2 separate regions of the Homo sapiens genome follow, and region 2 is linked to region 1. The links are contacts of gene promoters, found by promoter capture Hi-C in human tissues and cell types (Jung and others, 2019). All regions are on one chromosome and are shown on one strand. Each heading gives the region's core, a stretch centred on a gene start or on the middle of the fragment in contact. The rest is flanking DNA. Distances are from core to core; before and after follow the strand shown.

Evidence for each region. The method cuts DNA at HindIII sites, captures the fragments that hold promoters and counts their contacts. A contact is called where the count stands out against the background at its distance.
Region 2: the fragment with the promoter of ABHD16B here is called in contact with a fragment that was not itself captured in region 1 in 1 of the 25 tissues and cell types used here (lymphoblastoid cells).

The regions. Positions count from the first base shown.
Region 1 is chr20:63,207,750-63,213,619 of GRCh38, forward strand. The region is part of intron 3 of YTHDF1 (YTH N6-methyladenosine RNA binding protein F1); the gene reads right to left. Among named protein-coding and RNA genes, the nearest start is that of YTHDF1, 5.4 kb to the right of the region's middle. The HindIII fragment of the contact is 5,349 bases long and covers 676-5,870 here.
Region 2 is chr20:63,858,023-63,863,892 of GRCh38, forward strand. ABHD16B (abhydrolase domain containing 16B) reads left to right here and starts at 3,476. Exons shown (of 1, transcript NM_080622.4): 1 at 3,476-4,966. The coding sequence starts at 3,519. The coding sequence ends at 4,928. It overlaps ABHD16B-AS1 (ABHD16B antisense RNA 1), which reads right to left. Exons shown (of 2, transcript NR_165314.1): 2 at 3,193-5,870. RefSeq lists a silencer at 524-683. The HindIII fragment of the contact is 14,540 bases long and covers 1-5,870 here.

The sequences.
Region 1 (5,870 bases), core at 2,100-4,599:
TAATCCCAGCACTTTGGGAGGCCGAGGCAGGTGAATCACAAGGTCAGGAGTTCGAGACTAGTCTGATCAATATGGTTAAACCCCGTCTCTACTAAACCGGGTATGGTGGCAGGCACCTGTAGTCCCAGCTACTCCGGAGCCTGAGGCAGGAGAATCGCTTGAACCTGGGAGGTGAAGGCTGCCATGAGCCAAGATCACGCCACTGCACTCCAGCCTGGGTGACAGAGTGAGACTCCGTCTCAAAAAAAAAAAAACAAAAACAAACAAAAAAGAACTAAGAGCAGTTTTACATATTTACTCAAATTTAACCACATTAAAAAAAAGAAACTTCCATCCGAATGACCAGAACCATTTAAGTTGAAGTTCAATGGTTAAGTTTACTTCCTATATCCATTTTTCTGAGATGGAGTTGGAATGACCAAAAGGAGAGACTAGAGGGAGAAGCAGAAAGGATCCCTTCAGAAGCCCAAGAGGAACAGAGAGAAGCATTTGCTTAATAAAAACAAACAAACAAAACAAAATAATTAATTATGTAAAATGGAAAAGTATTAAGGGTACTGCTGAAAAGTGAGGGAGTGATATGGCTCCTGGGAAGCAGCTCTGACCCAGGACTGGGAACAGGCCTACCAGGATGACCTGTTCTTCAGGAGAAGCCTTAGGGAGCACAGAGAAAATGTTAGAGGAAAATAACCGAAAAACCCTAATTTACTTACTTGGCTGCTCACTTTTCAGATCTGTTTTCAGGACTGGTCCCTCTGAGGCTGCAATTTCAGCCCCTCAGCTGGTGGCATCAATATGCAGAGACAGCAGTTTCTGACAGAATTTCTGCATTTGTTTCAGCAACTTGCCAGTAAGAAGCACGTTAAGATCCCACTATGTCCTTCCAGCTGCGTTTCTGGGAAGCCGTTGTGATGGCAAATGCCTACTTAGCAGGCGCTGCCACTGGGTATTTTAAGGAAGCCCATATTTTTAGATGCAGCCACAAGAAACTGACACTCCCCTGCTGGCCCTCAGGTCACCCCGGGCCCACCAGAGCTGCCCAGGCACAGCAGGAAGCCCTGTGCCAAGCATCTCCAGGCTGTTCTCAAAGAAGTCCTAGATGCTCTGATGAGGCATTGTGTTCAGTGAAAAAAAACCACCCAAAACCTGATGAGCAATTTCGTCACTGTGTGATCAGTGTCCTCACACAAACAGAGACGTGTGAGCATGGAGGCAGTATCCTTACCACACACTGAGGCCGTAACCTGTACAGTGTGTAACTGTACTGAATAATGGAAGTAACTGTACATCAATGATAAGTATCTGTGTGTCTAAACATTATCTAAACACAGAAAAGGTACAGTAAAAATACGGTATAAGAAATCAAGAACGGGACACCTGTACAGAGCACTTACGGTGAATGGAGCAGGTAGGCCTGAGTTGCACTGGGTGAGTCAGGGAGAGAATGTGAAGGCCTGGGCCCTCACTGGACACCACTGTCACCTTTAGAAACACCGTCCACTTAACACTACACTCAATTTTTAAATTTTCCTTTCTTCAATAATAAACCCTAGCCTACTATGGCTTTTTTACTTTACAAACTACTTTTTTAAAAGCTTTAAGGTTTTTGACTCTTTTGTAAACACAAATATATCATATAGCTGTACAAAAATTTTTTTTGTTATATCCTTATTCCATAAGCTTTTTTCTATTAAATTTTTTTTAACTTTTTGAACTTTTTTGTTATAAATGAAGACACGGCCAGGCACAGTGGCTCATGCCTATAATCCCAGCCCTCTGGGAGGCCGAGGCAGGAGGACTGCTTCAGCCCAGGATTTCGAGAACAGCCCAGGCAACACAGTGAGACCCCATCTCTACAAAAAATCAAAAATAAGGCAGGAAGATCACTTGGGCCCAGGAGGTCAAGGCTGCAATGAGTCATGACTGCACTTCCGCCCAGGTGAGGGAGAGACCCTGCCTCAAAACAAAACAAAACAAAAAAACCAAAAACCCAAAAAGACACAAAAAACACATATTAGCCTAGGCCTACACAGGGTCTGGATCTTCCACCTCCACATCTTGCCCCACTGGAAGGTATTCAGGGGCAACAACACACATGGAGCTGTCATCTCCTGTCACACCAATTGCCTTCTTCTGGATTCCTCCTGAAGAACCTGCCTGAGGCTGCTTTACAGTTGACTTTGTTTCTAGTAAGTAGGCAGAATATGCTCTTAAAAGTATAGCAAATACACAAAGTAGTAACAGTCGTTTATCATCAATTATTACGTACTGTATGGTACTGTACGTAACTGTAGGTGTATACTCTGGTATGACTGGGGCAGTAGGTTTGGTCACACCTACTGCAGCACCACAGACACGAGTAATACACTGCCCTCAACATGGTAGCTCCAACGTCACCAGGTGCCAGGAATTTTTCAGCACCATCATAGTCTTATGGGACCACTATCATATTGTGGTCTGTTGCTGACCAAACTGCATCCGGCAGCACAGGTACAGGCATGCCCAGATGGCCTTGGTAATTTCTGTCAGTGGGATCACAGCAAACACACTCAGTCTGTTGGTCAGGGAGTGTGCAGGAAGCCTGGGGGGCCAGCGGCATCTATTCCCAACTCAGGCATCATGCCAAGACAGTGTCTTCTAAACTCTGAGTAGGAACTGTTCTGGGTCATTTCACAGTCTTTCCTTTCAGAAAACAACAGAGAACTGGGAAACCAGAAGTCCCCGAGCAGGAAAAGCCTCAAAAGAGAGAATCGGCGGGGCACTGTGGCTCATGCTTGTAATCCCAGCACTGTGGGAGGCTGAGGCAGGGGGATCACCAGAGGTCGGGAGTTCGAGACCAGCCTGACCAACATGGAGAAACCCCGTCCCTACTAAAAATACCAAAAAAAATTAGCCAGGCGTGGTGGCGCGTGCCTGTAATCCCAGCTACTCGGGAGGCTGAGGCAGGAGAATCACTTGAGCCAGGGAGGTGGAGGCTGCAGTGAGCTGAGATCGCGCCACTGCACTCCATCCTGGGCAACAAGAGCGAAACTCCATCTCAAAAAACAAAAAAAGAGAGAAAATCACAACAATCAAGCCCAACCCAGAGCCCTTCACTCCCAGTTCCTCTGCTCCCCCAACTCCCATTCAAGTCACAGACTAGAAGACAGATACTGAGCGGCTACAGTCGCAAGCGCCTCAGGGGCAACTAGGACTGAAACTCTAGCACCAGAAGCACAGCAAGGCGGGTGAGGCCTCTCTGAGGGAAGGACCCCCACCACACGGCAACAACCCCTCACAGCCCATTACAAGTTAAACCAACCTAACAGGCAGGCATTCTCCTAAGACTTTCTAAACCATTCTAAGTATGACAGTTTCACACAAAACACGGTAGCCTCCAACTGGCTACTACAAACCATATCTAGATTTTTCTCTTTTAAGTACCCAGGGTTAGGTTGGGCACTAGTGGCTCATGCCTATAATCCTAGCACTTTGGGAGGCTGATGCGTGTGGATTGCTTGAGCCCATGAGTTCAAGACCAGCCTGGGCAACACAGCAATATTTCATGTCTACTAAAAATTTAAAAATTAGCTGGGCGTGGTGGCACATGCCTGTAGTCCTAGCTACTTGGGAGGTTGAGGTGGGAGAATCACCTGAGCCTGGGAAGTCGAGGCTGCAGTGAGCCATGATCACATCATGCACTCCAGCCTGGGCAATGGAGTGAGACCCTGTCTCCAACAAAAAAGGACCCAGAGCTATTGATATGCCCACTATCTTAACTGTGGCCATGGCTCCAAAGGTATGTCTGTGTAAATCAAAAGTTATAAAACCATACTGTATACTCTACATATGGAGCTAAGACACCCACTGACATAAAAATAATCGATTTGTAAAGAAATCCTCCCAAACAACACAAAAGCTCCGACTTTATAAAAATATTTTTGGCTGGGCACAGTGGCTCATACCTGTAATCCTAGCACTTTGGGAGGCCAAAGCAGGAAGATCACTTGAGCCCAGAAGTTCAAGACTAGCCTGAGCAACACAAAGAGACCCTGTGTCTACAACCAACCAATCAATCAATCACCAGGTGTAGTGGTGCATGCCTGTAGTCCCAGCTATTCAGGAGGCTGAGGCAGGAGGATTGCTTAAGCCCAGGAATTTGAGGCTACAGTGAGCTATAATCATGCCCCTGAACTCTAGCTTGGGTAACAGCAGGACCCTGTCTCCAAAATACACACACACACACACACACACACACACACACACACACACACACACACTTTTAAGTGTACTGATGCAACCTCCCTCCCCCTTTATTGGCTAAAATTCAGTACATAATACCATTAAAGTACTAAAATAATAAGAACACACTAGAAAACAAGAAATTCAAAAAATTAGTTAACTTCCTGCCATTACCTCTATCCAAAGGCCCATCACTAAAGTCAAGTCAGTTCTGCCCAGAGGAAGGGCAGATTCTCAGAAGGCAACCAAGAGACAAGAAACAGAAGCAGGGTCGGAGCGCGGGGCAGCGCTGCCGAGGCTCCACCTGTACAAGGTTTCTTGGTCTCTAAGCTGCTTGATTCGCCAAGTGCAGTAGGAGGGAGGGGGATGAAGGAACATTCTAAGAAGTTCTAAGACACCTCAGAAAAGGGCAGACTAGTTTTATTCCTTCACAGAGAAGAGGTGAAGCCTGGTTTTACTTTAAAGTAAACATGCCCAGTAGCTGAGGGCTACTTGGAGTGGCGGAGGAAGGAATGTGAATCACAGCACACGAAATGGAGCACTCAGAGCATCTGCTTTGTGCTGCCCCATGAGGCCTGCTCACCAAAGTGAGGAGCTCACAGAGGTGCAGCCCCTCATCCAAGCCAACGGCCTGGAGGTAGGAAAGTGAGGCAGGGGAAGTCTGATTCCCGAGTTGGACTCTTAGACATAAACAGATACCGCTTCTCTTGGGAGTTTTGCTGCAACAGCAGCACAGAGGAGAGAGAGCAGCTCCCAGTAGATTTTAACCAGGGCAACTGTATCCCCCAAAAAACATCCACCAAGACAGTTTTGCTTGCTACAACTGGGGATGGGGAGAAGGAGTTGCTAATGGCATCTAGTGGGTGGGAAGCCAGGGAGGCTGCTAAACATCCAACAATGCACAGGACAGCCCCCAAAACAGAATGTTCCCGTGCAAAATGTCCACAGTGCCAAGGCAGAGAAAGCCTGAATTACCTAAGAAAACAGGGCAGCTATGACTCACTGGGCCCTGCTGTATCAGGTACTGTCTCAGCGCTTTATGTGCACCATCTGATGTCATCCTCCCAACAATTCTACAAACAGTTACTACTCTCTCTCTTCTACAGAAAAGGAAATTGAGGCAAGAGAAGGCAAGCCATGGACACAGGCCAGTCAGTGGTGGAGTTAAAATTGAAACCAGGCTGGGCGCGGTGCCTCACGCCTATAATCCCAGCACTCTGGGAGGCCGAGGCGGGTGGATCACCTGAGGTCAGGAGTTTGAGACCAGCCTGGCCAACATGGTGAAACCCCGTCTCTACTAAAAATACAAAAATTAGCTAGACGTGGTAGTGGGTGCCTGCAATTCCAGCTACTCCCGAGGCTGAGGCAGGAGGAATGCTTGAACCCGGGAGGCAGAGGCTGCAGCAGGCTGAGATCACGCCATTGCGCTCCAGCCTGGGTGGCAAGAGTGAGACGCTGTCTCAAAAAAAGGACTGAAACCCAGGCGGCCTCTGGCTCCACAGTCGCTCCACAGCCCAGCTCTTAGCTGCCTCCCCAGACCACAATTCCAATCATCCAGAGCTAAGAATAACCAGGAAGCTTCAGAAACACACACACACCTCCACTGCGTCAAAGGCAAGACACACCACTGACCCACAAACACTAGAGCC
Region 2 (5,870 bases), core at 2,226-4,725, 650 kb after region 1:
GACGGAGAAGGCTCCAGTGTACGCCACTCCCCCACCAACCCCACCGTCCTTGAGGGCTCTGAGCAATTAATTCTCTGTGACTCCAGATGTTCAGCAGCTGTCTTGGCCATTTCCGCCCCTTCTCCTGACCCTGCGTCCTCCAGGAAGCATCCCCTCCTGTCCTTGGGCTCCAAGCCACCCCCACCTTCCCTGCACCCCATTTCCTGAGCAGAGGCGTTTGTGCAGACTCAGCTCCCGCACCCACCAGGGTAGCCTCAGTTTTCCCAAGGCCTGGGCACTGCTCCCTGAGTCCAGGGCTGCTGGGGTCGGCTCACTCCCTGACGGATGCCCTCTGCCAGGGGCTCTGATCCTGGTTCCTGCCCCTCCGGCCTCTGGGACTGGTTTTCTCTCTCTCCTCTCCTTCCTTCTCCAAGGTTGGCTCTGCAGGCTCCACTGGCATAAATCAAGGGCCTCCAGGGAGGGTTCAGTGCAGGAGGGTTGGCAGGACTGGCCAGGGGGAGAGCCCTGCCCCAGTGCAGGAGGGCCCAATGCAGGAGGGTGGGAACCAAGGGGTGGAGGGCTCAGAGACTGGCAGGCCCTGTGGGGGTGGGTGCACGCTCAGATGTCGGCGTGGAGGGCACCGGGGTGGAGGTGGGGGTTGCCTCCACAAACAGATCAGCAGGGACACAGCCCCCACCTCCACCTTGTGGACACTTCCCTGAGCTGATGGCGGTGGAGGCACAAGAGGTCATGGCTGCTGCAGCTGGTCGTCTGGGGGCTCTTCTGGAGAGGGGACAGCTCCCTTCCTGTCACATGCTTTCCTGTCTCAACAGAGCCGGGGGTTCTGGGGCACTTGGACTCCCGTGGGCTGGTGGGATCAGGGGCTGGGCCAGACACAGGATGAGGCATGGAACCCCTGGGGGCCAGCGGCTCCAGCCCGCTGACCTCTGCCCCTCAGAATCCGGTCCCAGGCTCTCCCCTCCTCCTCTCAAGAACTTCCTGCTCTGTGTGTGTGTGTGGGTGGGTTGTTGTGGGGGAAGCTAAGGGCAGGTGGGCCTGGCTAAAGAAAAGCCTGCATTTCCAAACAAGTCCCAGAGCAGATCAAGCTGGGAGACTGCCCCCAGGAGGACGAGGCTCCTCCAAGCAGGATCTGCTCAGGGGAATCAAAATAAGGTTTAGTGCGTCCAACATCCTGCGTGGACAGTCCTCCAGGACTCCTGCCGCTGCCAGGATCTGAACTGAGGTGGCAGGGACACCTCCTGTCAGAACTTCGGCTCTGCTGCTGGGTTCACTCCTGTGGTCTCACACAAAATGGGCCGGTAGCCTTTGGGCCCACAGCCCCAACCTGCCTAGAGTAGGCAGCCGCTGAGTTTATGAAAGAGGCTCCTGGGAAAGGAATCATCTCCCACCCTCTGCAGAAGTTTCCATCCCCACCCCTATCCACCAGGCTCCTTTCCCCACAGGGTCAGGGGTGGACACTTGAGCAGGACCAGAACCACCAATCCCCAGGGGAAGCCTTGCCCATCCCTTGGCTGCAGGGGCAGTACCCTGTGTGTTTCCTCCTGGGGCAGGGCTCCTGTTGCTGCCCAGGACCCAGTGGAAAGGATGGTGTGACAGGTGCACCAGTGGACCCTGAGACACCCTCTTTGTCCTCAGGCTTTGACCAATGAGCACAGTAGCCAATCGGAGATCAAAGCTGGATAACCAGGAAAATCTGGATCTCAACTGTGTGTGTGCCTGGGGGTAGGACTGCCAGATTTAGCAAAACAAAAACAAATTTAAAAACAGGGTATATCTAGACCGGGTGCGGTGGCTCCTGCCTGTAATCCCAGCACTTTGGGAGGCCAAAGCGGGTGATCCACCTGAGGTCAGGAGTTAGAGGCCAGCCTGACCAACGTGGTGAAACCCCATCTCTACTAAAAGTACAAAAAGTTAGCCGGGCATGGTGGCGGGCACCTGTAATCCCAGCTACTTGGGAGGCTGAGGCAGGAGAATTGCTTGAACACCCAGGAGGCAGAGGTTGCAGTGAGCTGAGATTGCACCATTGCACTCCAGCCTGGGCGACAAGAGTGAGACTCCGTCTCAAAAACAAACAAACAAACAAACAGAAAAAACAGGATATCCAGTTAAATTTGAATTTCAGATAAACAATTTTAAAATAATGTCTCAAGCAGAAGTTGGAACATACTTATACCCAAAAAGTATTTGTTTATTTGTAATTCCAATTTAACTGGCATATTATTCTGTATTTTATCTGGCAACCTAGAATGGGGGTAATAGCCCCCCAAATCGCTCCCTTTGTTAATTGGTCCCTGTCTTCTGTCCCCCAACCCCTAAAGGCAGCAGCTGACTCCCCCAACTAGGGGCGGGGCCTGTTAGGGTCAGGCAGTGCCTCTAACCCAGACGCTGAGCAGGAGAGCAGAGAGGGGGTGCTTCAGCCTGAAACTACCCCTTCCCCAGAAGGCTGGGGTCCCAGGCGGGCCTGGCACCTGGGCTCAGAGGCTCTGGCTGGATTTGCCAAACTCCCTGATTGTAGCATGTTTGTTTCTGGTCTGGGGAGCTGTTGAGTACCTGGAGCTGCCCTCTTCCCTGGGGCTCCTCCTGGCAGGCGGCTTCCGACCCTGCCCTCAGGTGGGCTGGCCCTTTCCAGGGCAGGAGAAAAGATACCTCTCCAGAAAAGAGGGAGGCGCAGCCTGGGAGTGGGGGCTCGACCCAGGAGCGAGAAAGAGGAACCCCAGCCAGGCAGGACCCGCCCCAGAAGGTCACTGCTGTTGCTGGCAGCCAGTGAAAAGAGGATCCAGAAAAGGAGAGGGCTTGTTTCTGGTCAGCACCGAAGAAGGAAGGTGTGGAGAGGAGGGGCCGGGCCGAGAGCAAATACCGCCTTTTTGGTGCAGCAGCAGCCCTGTCTCTGACCCCGGCCGTCCTGGGGAGATGAGGTTTAAACCAGCAGACCCTGAAGGGAAACTTGCAGGACCCACAGCAAGCCTGGTACAGGCGGAGGAGGCCTTGCTGTCCCTTTTTGGCCCGTGGGGCTGTCCATCTTAAATTTAAGGAAGAGGGAGGCGGGGTGCAGGGACTCACACCTGTAATCCCAACACTGTGGGAGGTGGAGGCGGGGTGCAGGGACTCACACCTGTAATCCCAACACTGTGGGAGGTGGAGGCGGGAGGATCGCTTGAGCCCAGGGGTTCAAGACCAGCCTAGGCAGCATAGTGAGACCCCATCTCAATTTAATAAATAAATAAGGAAGAAAGAGGGAGACAGTAGCTGCTCAAATCATGGGTGGGAAAGCTGGGCCTGGGAGCGTTTAGCTGGTGGGGTCTTGGCGAAGGCGGGGGACGGGCAGAACCTTGGGTTCATCATCTCTGGGAACCCTTTGTGCACCCATCACCTAGCAACAGGATGCAGCCTTCCCTCCGCCCTGGAAGGCCAGGTCACAAAGGCCATCAGGGCTTGTCCGGGAGCCGGTATCCCCTAAGACTGCCCTGTGCCTCTCGCGGCGATCCCGGCCCAGCGGCTGGGCGTTAGGGCCACCGCTCATGTGCGTCATCTGCTTCGTGAAGGCGCTGGTGCGCGTGTTCAAGATCTACCTGACCGCCAGCTACACCTACCCATTCCGCGGCTGGCCCGTGGCCTTCCGCTGGGATGACGTGCGCGCCGTGGGCCGGAGCAGCAGCCACCGGGCGCTGACCTGCGCGGCAGCCGCGGCGGGCGTGTGGTTGCTGCGGGACGAGACGCTGGGCGGGGATGCGCTGGGGCGGCCTCCACGTGGGGCGCGCAGCCAGGCGCAGTGCCTCTTGCAGCAGCTCCGCGAGCTGCCCGGCCAGCTCGCTAGCTACGCGCTGGCCCACTCGCTGGGCCGCTGGCTCGTGTACCCCGGCTCCGTGTCCCTGATGACGCGCGCGCTGCTGCCGCTGCTGCAGCAGGGCCAAGAGCGCCTCGTGGAGCGCTACCACGGCCGGCGCGCCAAGCTGGTGGCCTGTGACGGCAACGAGATCGACACTATGTTCATGGACCGCCGCCAGCACCCGGGCAGCCACGTGCACGGGCCGCGCCTCGTCATCTGCTGCGAAGGCAACGCGGGCTTCTACGAGATGGGCTGTCTGTCTGCACCGCTCGAGGCCGGCTACTCCGTGCTGGGCTGGAACCACCCCGGCTTCGGCAGCAGCACTGGCGTGCCCTTCCCTCAGCACGACGCCAACGCCATGGACGTGGTGGTCGAGTACGCACTGCACCGCCTGCACTTCCCGCCCGCGCACCTGGTGGTCTACGGCTGGTCTGTTGGCGGCTTCACGGCCACCTGGGCCACCATGACCTACCCGGAGCTGGGTGCACTGGTGCTGGACGCCACCTTCGACGACCTTGTGCCGCTGGCGCTGAAGGTCATGCCCCACAGTTGGAAGGGGCTGGTGGTGCGCACCGTGCGCGAGCACTTCAACCTCAACGTGGCCGAGCAGCTGTGCTGCTACCCGGGGCCGGTGCTGCTGCTCCGACGCACGCAGGATGACGTGGTCAGCACTTCGGGCCGCCTGCGCCCCCTGTCACCTGGTGACGTGGAGGGCAACCGGGGCAATGAGCTGCTGCTGCGCCTGCTGGAGCACCGCTACCCCGTCGTGATGGCGCGAGAGGGCCGCGCCGTCGTCACCCGCTGGCTGCGCGCTGGCAGCTTGGCGCAGGAGGCCGCCTTCTATGCACGCTACCGCGTGGACGAGGACTGGTGCCTGGCGCTGCTGCGCTCCTACCGTGCACGCTGCGAAGAGGAGCTGGAGGGCGAGGAGGCCCTGGGGCCACACGGACCCGCCTTCCCATGGCTGGTGGGCCAGGGCCTGAGCTCGCGGCGGCGCCGGCGCCTCGCACTGTTCCTGGCTCGGAAGCACCTCAAGAACGTGGAGGCGACTCACTTCAGCCCTCTGGAGCCTGAGGAGTTTCAGTTGCCCTGGCGGCTGTAACCTATATGCCCCAGTGGGGGATCACGCACTTGAACTCCTGGCCTTCTTGGTTCACCTCCCCATACCGCCAACCATTGCAGGGGGCCGGCGCCGACGCGGGGCGGGGCGGGGGGGGGCGCGCGGGGTGCTCCTGATCTGCTGTCTGGGGGAGGGTAGGCAGAACACGGGGACTTGGTGCTCTCCTTCCTTCACAGGGGCGTTCTGACCGTCCTCCCATTCTTCCTAGCTCTGTCCCCTCCTTTCTCTCTTCCTCCTACAAATACTTTTGGCTGCCCCCACCCAGCTCCTAAGGGAATGAAAGGTTAACCTGACCCGGTTTATGGCAATACTGTGTGATGGGTGCCTTGATCACCACAAAAGGATGATGGGAACGGGGCTGTGGGGTCCCAGGGAGGAGCCCTTCACCTGGCCTGGGTTACAGGATGGCTCCTGGGAAGACAATGCCAGCTGTGCGCTGAAAGTCTGTGCAAGCTGCTCCCGTGAAAAGGAGGACATTGGCATGGCAGGGCTGTGGGCAGGTCTTAGTGGCTGGACATTCCCAGGAGTTAGCACTGGCTATCATTCTGTAGGGCTCCCTCCCACCTCCAAACTCCTGGCTTCTACACCAGGGCATTCACAGACAGATTGCAGACTCACATGGTGGCATGTGAGGCTACAGATACACTTGCACAGGCCAGAGGATACTACTGCGTGTCCCCTGGAGCCAGGCCTGGGCTGGACTTTGTTCCTGGCTTAGGGATGCAACACAGAATGGGACAAGGCCTCTGCTCACAATGGTCTGTAATGTCACATCTCTGTGGTCTGCCCTGAACTGCCTGAAGCAGGGACTATTGTCCCTACATGTCCCTAGTCCCCGGGCTGGCCTGGTTGGGTTGAGCAAGAATCTCTGGAAAGAATGAAAGGCAGCAAATGGAGAAAACATTACTGAGAGCACGAGAGCAG